Regions from separate parts of the Homo sapiens genome. Here region 1 is linked to region 2. The links are contacts of gene promoters, found by promoter capture Hi-C in blood cells and fetal thymus (Javierre and others, 2016). All regions are on one chromosome and are shown on one strand. Each heading gives the region's core, a stretch centred on a gene start or on the middle of the fragment in contact. The rest is flanking DNA. Distances are from core to core; before and after follow the strand shown.

What was found. Contacts are between HindIII fragments. The CHiCAGO score rates a contact against its expected background, and 5 or more counts as called.
Region 1: a contact is called between a fragment that was not itself captured here and the fragment with the promoter of MYCL in region 2, in 2 of 17 cell types (M1 macrophages and M2 macrophages). The highest score is 6.6, in M1 macrophages.

The regions. Positions count from the first base shown.
Region 1 is chr1:40,024,389-40,028,463 of GRCh38, forward strand. The region is part of intron 2 of LOC105378669 (a long non-coding RNA gene); the gene reads right to left. Among named protein-coding and RNA genes, the nearest start is that of CAP1, 14 kb to the right of the region's middle. The HindIII fragment of the contact is 3,390 bases long and covers 118-3,507 here.
Region 2 is chr1:39,900,622-39,904,484 of GRCh38, forward strand. MYCL (MYCL proto-oncogene, bHLH transcription factor) reads right to left here and starts at 1,296. Exons shown (of 2, transcript NM_001033081.3): 1 at 318-1,296. The coding sequence starts at 813. RefSeq lists silencers at 550-669, 1,080-1,399, 1,660-1,869. The HindIII fragment of the contact is 9,554 bases long and covers 1-3,863 here.

The sequences.
Region 1 (4,075 bases), core at 563-3,062, 120 kb after region 2:
TGGCCTCAAGCAGTTCTCCTGCCTTGGCCTCCAAAGTGGTGAGATTACAGGTGTGAGCCACTATGCCTGGCCACTTCTGCTTTCTTTGTTGATTTTTGTCTAACATCTTGACTTTAAAGCTTAGCTCTTTAAATTCCAGCCTATCTTTTTTTCTAATATAAGCACTTAAGGCTATGCATTTCTCCTTAAGTACATCCTATAAATTTCAATATAGCACTCTTAAAATCATTCAGTTCTAAGTATTTTCTGATACTTTCTTGTATGGTGTCTTCTTTGATCAGTTTAGCAGTAACTATATTTAAAGTTTTTCCAACATACAGGGTATTTTAAGGTGTTGCTGTTACTGTTCTTACTGTCCTCCAGTTATAATGAGACACCCAATGCGGTAAGTATACTGATTCTTTGGTGTTTGAGACTCGTTTTGTAACCTGGAGCATGGTCAATATTTATAAAAGCTCCATGGAAATTCTTGACAAAAATATATGTACTCTAATATTGGCTAACATTTTCTAAGTATAACCTATTAAGTCAAACCTGTTTTGTTTGTTTGTTTTGTTTTGTTTTAAACTGCTTCCCTGTCTTGGACCTGTCTGTCAGAATTCTATACTATCTGTGACATCTTTGGCAACAGTAACCCAATTTTTCCTTTCTTTATTAATGTGACATGAGATATTTGAAAATTCTATGATACATGTAGTATGTTTCATATTAAACTGAATTTGGGGGAGTTTTACACTTAATAGTTTGTCAATATTTTAGGATATTGGTACTTGATATCCTCTTTATATGAACAAATTGACTCTAAATTTTAAGCTGGAAAGCCATTGCAAAATCATGTAGAAAATAGGCTGGGTGCAGTGGCTCATGCCTGTAATCCCAGCACTTTGGGAGGCCAAGGCAGGTGGAACGCCTGAGGTGAGGAGTTCAAGACCAGCCTGGCTAGCATGGTGAAACCCCCATCGCTACTAAAAATACAAAAATTAGCTGGGTGTGGTGGTGCATGCCTATAATCCCAGCTCAGTCACTGTAGTTAAACTCCATTGGTTTGGTCTGTTAGGCTGAGTGCAGGAGCCTAGTCCAAATCAATGGCCTCCTGTAAATTTTAATTAATTAATTTATTTATTGAGATGGAGTCTCACTCTGTTGCCCAGGCTGGAGTGCAGTGGTGCAGTCTCAGCTCACTGCAACCTCTGTCCCCCAGGTTCAAGCAATTCTCGTGTCTCAGCCTCCTGAGTAGCTGGGATTACAGGTGCCTGCCACCACGCCCGGCTAATTTTTTTATTTTCAGTAGAGACAGGGTTTCATCATATTGGCCAGGGTGGTCTTGAACTCCTGACCTCAGGTGATCCACCTGTCTCAGCCTCCCAAAGTGCTGGGATTACAGGCGTGAGCCACCATGCCACACCTCAATGTCCTTCCAGCCTCAGTCAGCCAGGTGGTTTCAAAGCCAATTCCACATTTTAGGCTTTCATTATGGTAGCACCCATACCAAACTTTTTCTTAGAAACAGCTAAAAGCTGCATAAATTTGAGTCCTCTCACAAGTTCAAGGCAGATAGTTACTCAAGAGATTGAGGCTGAGGACGGGAGGCGGCTTGAGCCCAGGAGTTCGAGGTTACAATGAGATATAATTGAGCCACTGCACTCCAGCCTGGGTGACAGAGTAAGGCTCTGCCTCTAAAAAAAGAAAAGAAAAAAGTTCAAGTGGAAAATGGCAGTGAAAAGATAAGAAGCAGCAGGAGTAGACAGGGAGAATCTTCAGGCCATGGTGCAGGACTGACACCCGTGAGAGGAGAGAAGGAAAGAAGGAGGATTGGGTAGGAAGAGGCTCCGAGTGTTAGTGCAGCTCTGAAAAAACTCTTGGCCAGGCTGATTGCCCAGTGAAGGAGTCCCACATAAGGCAGAAATGGCCCAGCTGTAGTATGCCCTGGAGCTCGGTCATTGGCTGGGATGAATCCAGGGAAAGCGTGCCTTGGCAAGAATGCTGTGGCAAATCCCAGAGGTACGGCAGTTACCTCTACACCTCACAGCAGATTCTCTTTGTGAAGGTGGATGTAAGACATTGTGCACACAGTCCACCCCTTGGTCACATAGCCCATCCCTTGCACTGCCAAGATCCACCTGCCCCACATCATTGGAGAGAAGTTCCTCTACAGCTCTCACAGGCCTCTCTTCCTGAGGAGAAACCTGAATGAGTGAGGTTAGGGGGATGAACCATAGCCCCTATTGTTGCAGATGGTTGAGTTGTCTTTTTTTAAAAAAAAAAAAAATCAATTTATAAGACTGGGTGCAGTGGCTCACACCTGTAATCCTACCACTTTGAGAGGCTGAGGAGGGAGGATTGCTTGAGCCCAAGACCACCCGGGGCAACATAGTAAGACCTCATCTCTACAGATAATTTAAAAAATTAGCTGGGTAGGTGAGCCACTGTGCCTGACCATACATTTTATTTAACATATGAAATGCCCAGAATAGGCAAATCTATAGAGACAAGTAGATTAGTGATTGCCTATGGTTGGGCAGGGAGAGTTGTGGGGTGCTGTGTTCTGAATGTGTCCCCAAGATTCATATGTTGATACTGAATCACCAATGTAATAGTATTAAGAGGTGGGGCCTTTAGGAGATGACTAATAAGGGCCGAGCCCTCATGGATGGCATTAAGGCCCTTATAAAAGGGCTTGAGTTGGTGGGTTCCATCTCTTCTGCCATGTGAGAAGGTCCTCACCTGATGCCAAACACCAGTGCTTTGATCTTGGACTTCCAAGCCTCTAGAACTGTGAGAAATGTCTACTATTTATAAATTATTCAGTCTCATGTATTTTGTTGTAGCAGCACAAACAGACTAAGACAGAGGTGGCAGGGGTGAGGGGGGACAGAGTATGACCATTAATGGGTACCAGGTCCCTTTTTGGGGTGATAAAAATGTTCTAAGATTGATCATGGTAAAAGTTGTACAACTCTGTGAATATACTAAAAACATCGAATTGTATGTTTTAAATGGGAGACTTGTATGGTATGTGGATTATATCTCAATAAAGCTGATATATATGTGTGTGTATATATATATGTGTATATATATGTGTATATATATGTGTGTATATATATGTGTGTGTATATATATATATATATATACACACACACACACACACACATATCTATATCTAGGACCAGGACTTACTTGGCTTGGCTTGAAAATAAAACTGTTTTCACTGTCAGCCTCTCCAGATGGTAAATGATTCTAAAGTTAAGAAATGGCTCTGGGCAGAAGTAAAATCCAAGACACTGTCAGGAAAATATTATCTAAAAAAGAAGTTAAAGGTTAAGACCTTTATAGAATGCTTTATAGGATGCTTTATAGAATCCATCTGATAGAAAAAAAAGTCTCTCCAAAGATCTTAAGGACATTTTGGAGCAGTCTCTCAAGGGAAGGAAGTGCTTATCTCAAAGAGATTTATGAGAGTAGCTTTTGTTGGAGTGGATAATAAATTCATGCATAAGGAACCCACAAAGCTTCTAAGAGAATTGCTCTGGCAGAAGCATCTATCAGCTAGGACTAATGGGGACATAGACAGTACAAAATGGAAAGATGCCTTTTATAGGGAGGAATCAGGCTGAGAAGGCTACTCAGATACAAACTCAATTTTCTTATAGAAAAGGAAGGATGATTCAGAGTGTAACCAAGAGCCCAGATATTGGAGCTGAAACCACAATGAACAACTCTCCGGCAATTGGACTAAGCTCTAATCAACCTACATCAGTTGGATTTCAGAGTTGTCTCTGCTGTATGCCTCCCATTTTCCCTTGTTTTGAAGGGGAGCAACTCTAGAGCAACTCTAGCCATGGGAGCAACTGTAGAGCAACTCTAGCCTTTCCCACCATTGTATGTAGGATGTGTATAGGAGGCAAATAAGTTGCCTCGTTAATTCATATATTTGATATGTAGGAAACAAATGGCAGAGATAGATCAATTAGATAAATTGAGAGGCTCTTAAGATAGTCCAGGCAAGAGATGATGGTAGCTTGGAGTAGGTAGCAGTGAAGAAAATGAGTAAGTAGAGAGATTCAGAATATATTTT
Region 2 (3,863 bases), core at 46-2,545:
GTACCCCCTTCAATCCCTTACAGTCCAACCCCAGTATTGTCCTCTCTAAGCGCCAACCCTCACCTCAAATCCCTTGTCCCCTGGGGCTCCAATAATCATCAAAGGGAGGCTGGCTCCCACGCCACTTTTCCAAACTGTTTACCAACACACCCACGTGCCAGACAGACACGGTTGGGGACTACACGGGCAGCTTCAGCCAAAGAGAGGCGGAGATGGCCCAAGAGCTTGAGAAGAGCCAATGCCTGACCTCAGGCAGGGGCAGAGCTTTGGCCACCCATGGGGTGGCCCCCTCTTGGATGGCTCGGGGAGGTCCTTACCCGAGTCGCTTGGGCTCTCGGACCCGGAGCAGGCCTGGGTCTTGGGTTCGCCCAGCGGACAGGGGGCGGCGGGCGCCGGGTTGCCGGCTTCGAGGCTGGGAGTGCAGTCCGGGGCGGCGGACGCCTTGGGCGGGTTCCCCCGGGGCGCGCCAGGAGCGAGCCGGTCGCTCACAGCTCTCTCCAGCCGTTCCCGGGCCGAGAAGCCGCTCCACATGCAGTCACGGCGTATGATGGAGGCGTAGTTCCTGCCCCAGCCTTTCGAGTGGCCCCGGGATTCCGCTTCGTCTCCGGTGCACCCTCCGGGCCACGGCTCCGGGGGACCAATCCCGGGGGCCGGGTCCCCTGCGCCGGGACCCAAGCCCCAGGGCGGCGACGTGGGGGGCGATGGCACCAGCTCGAATTTCTTCCAGATGTCCTCGCTGGGCGCCGTGGAGCGGTAGAAATCCTCCCCGCAGTCATAGTCGTAGAAATAGTGCTGGTACGAGTCGTAGTCCATGTCCGCTCCCTGCGGGAGGGAAGGGGGGACGTGCTGACCGGGTGCCGGCCGGGCGAAGGAGGTGTCCCCGGGTCCCTCGGCACAGTCGGCTGCCGGGCTCTCGTTCCTCCCCAACCCCACCAGCTTGCAGCCTGCGCCCAGTCCTCGCGTCCCGGGAAGCCGGGCCCCGGGTCAGAGTGGTAGGGGAAGCCAATCGCAGCGCGCGGACCCGACTGTGGGCAGCGAGTTCAAAGCAAACTTTGCCAGCGCCGCCCGGAGCGCAGCTCCCAGGGCCCGGCGGGGCCGGGCGGGGGCGCGCCGTGCCCAGAAGGCAGCCTGCAGCCAGCCCGCACCGCGGGACCCGCGCCCGTGCCCTGGCCACCCGCAGCCTCACCTCGCTCCAGCCGCCCGCCACCTGGAGCGGACCGGCTCCCCGCCGGCTCGGGGCAGCCCGGCAGCCAGCACACACGCACATGCGCGCCGCCGAGAGCGCGGCCCGCACTCACAAGCGCGCCCCCCCCGCGCGCGCGCCCTCCCTCGCTCGCGCACGGCGGCCCGGACGCTCTCGGGATCGGCGCGGGAGCGCGAGCTGCAGGCGCATTGTTTCCTGACTGCCTTATATCTCGTCGCGCGCCCGGGACCCAGGGACTGGGGGGCGGGCCCTATGGGACAAACCCCGCCCTCTCCCTGCCTACTACGGGCAGTCGACAGGTGGGGCCGGCCCCACCTCCTGGCAGCGCTCGCCCGCTCCGTTCAATCCCCGGTAGCCCCCCAAATAAATTGCACGCTGGGGAGCGCAAACAGGAGGAGGGCTGATGCGGCCCGGCGGCCGCTTGGCGGTGCCAGCCGGCTGAGCTAAACCGTGCTCCTTGCCCACTCCGAGCTGGGGAATTAGGGCTACTCCCCGCCCCACCCTGCGCGCCTACTTTCCCCGGCGCACCCCGCTGGGTTCAGGTGCGCCCGAGCCGCCGCGAGGGGTAGGGGGAGGGAAACGCGCCACCTGGCGGCCCTCAGCCCTGAACTTGGGCTGGTCCCGGCGTCCGTCTGGTCACCCGTCGGCCCGTTTCTTGAGCTCAGTGGCCCAAGCCTGGATGGCATCGAAGCGAAGATTCCGGGATTTAGAGCCCGAAACGTAACCTTCCTGAGCTTCAGTTTCATCTGTAAAATGAAGGGATGGTAATGCTTACCTCACAGGGTTGTTGTGAGGCTTCAGGGAAATAAGAGCATCTAGGGAAGGGGTCTGGTCTAGGTGGAGAGGCAGACGGCGCTGGCTTAGCCCCCGCTTTGGGGAGGCGGTGCAGAAATGAGGAATTTTTCCCAGGGCAAAGCCAGCTGAGACCCGCCATGCTCCCTCTCATCTCACACAAAACACTGTAGGAGCTGTACAGTAGAGAATGAGGATTTGGCATCTGGAAAATACTGCAGGACCAAGTTGTTTCAAGTTTTGCCCTGCATTGCTGGCCAAGATGATAGATAACCCCTTTGTATAATCTTCTTTTTAAATTTTAAATATATTTTGTTAAGAGACAGGGTCTCACTCAGCGTCAAGGCTGGAGTGCAGTGGCTCGATCATGACTCGCTGCAGCCTCGAACTCCTGGGCTCAAATGATCCTCCCTCCTTAGCCTCCGAAAGTGCAGGGATTACAGGCACGGGTCACCGTGCTGGGTCCCCCTTTGTGTCATCTTCTACACAGATGACCTTTGGTGGAAGAGAAAAAATTAAACTATACGGCCAGTCTGAGATTTAGGCCAGAGGAGAGTAACTTGGGACAGCAGCCAATACATCTAGATTCCTCCACCTGGCATCAAGGTCTGGTGTCTGTCTACCCCAGCCTGATTGTCTGCTGTCTCTCTCTTTCCCTCCCACCCCTGTGGTCTAAGAACACCAAACTACTCACTGTTGGCAGACGGAAGTGAGAAGGGCAAGCAATTCAGTGTGGTTGGAGCATGGGACACGGATGTGTGTTGTTATATGGGTTGGGAAGGCAGGGAAAATGACAGCCTTCCGTTTTAGATACGTTGGGTCTGTGCTGCATGTGGGACATCTTGAAGGCAGAAACCTGCTCCTACTTGCTTTGTGATTTCTGCACCTAGAACAGCTTCTGGCAGACATTTGTGAACTAACTGACTTACTGAGGGACTCAGCTAACCAGATTTCACTGAGACAGCTTGTGTGCCCTGCTTTGTGCTAAACGGAAGACACAAATCAGAAGGGTTCCAGGTTTGGTTGCAGCCCCAAGGCACAGGCATTGGATTGTCCTTTAGTGACTTTTCTCTGGTCCACAGATGTCTGAGATGGTTGCTGTACTAGTCTGGGTTATTGGTTACAAATAACAAAAACCAACCTTAGGCAGGGCACAGTGGCTCACGCCTGTAATCCCAGCACTTTGGGAGGCTGAGGCGGGCAGATCACAAGGTCAGGAGATCGAGACCATCCTGGCTAACACGGTGAAACCCCATCTCTACTAAAAATACAAGAAAATTAGCCGGGTGTCGTGGTGGGCACCTGTAGTCCCAGCTACTCAGGAGGCTGAGGCAGGAGAATGGCGTGAACCCGGGAGGCGGAGCTCACAGTGAGCCGAGATTGCGCCATTGCACTCCAGCCTGGGCGACAGAGCGAGACTCTGTCTCAAAACAAAAAAACAAAACAAAACAAACAAACAAAAAACCAACCTTAGACAAATGTAAGCAGAAAATGACTTTATTGGAATAATTGGTGGTATAGACCTCAAGGGAGGCTGGAAATTTATGTTTGGAGAATGGGCCTTCTTTACCTAGACTACAGCCCCCACCCTGCAGCTCTTCCCATGGTTTCATTGTAGATGATATATGGGGGCAACCAGGAGGTGCTGCCCCTCCTCAAGAAGTAGGAAAAAGGAAATTAAGTTGTCTTCTGAGAGTTAACACTGCTTCTTCACTTTGCATACTTTTGTTTGTTTAATGTCTTCCTCGTCAGACTGTAAACTGAATGAGGGCAGACAAATGTCAGCCTTATTCATGGCTGTACCCCAGGGCTTTAGAACAAAGCCTGGCACATCATGGGTGCTGAGTATATGACTGAACACAAAACT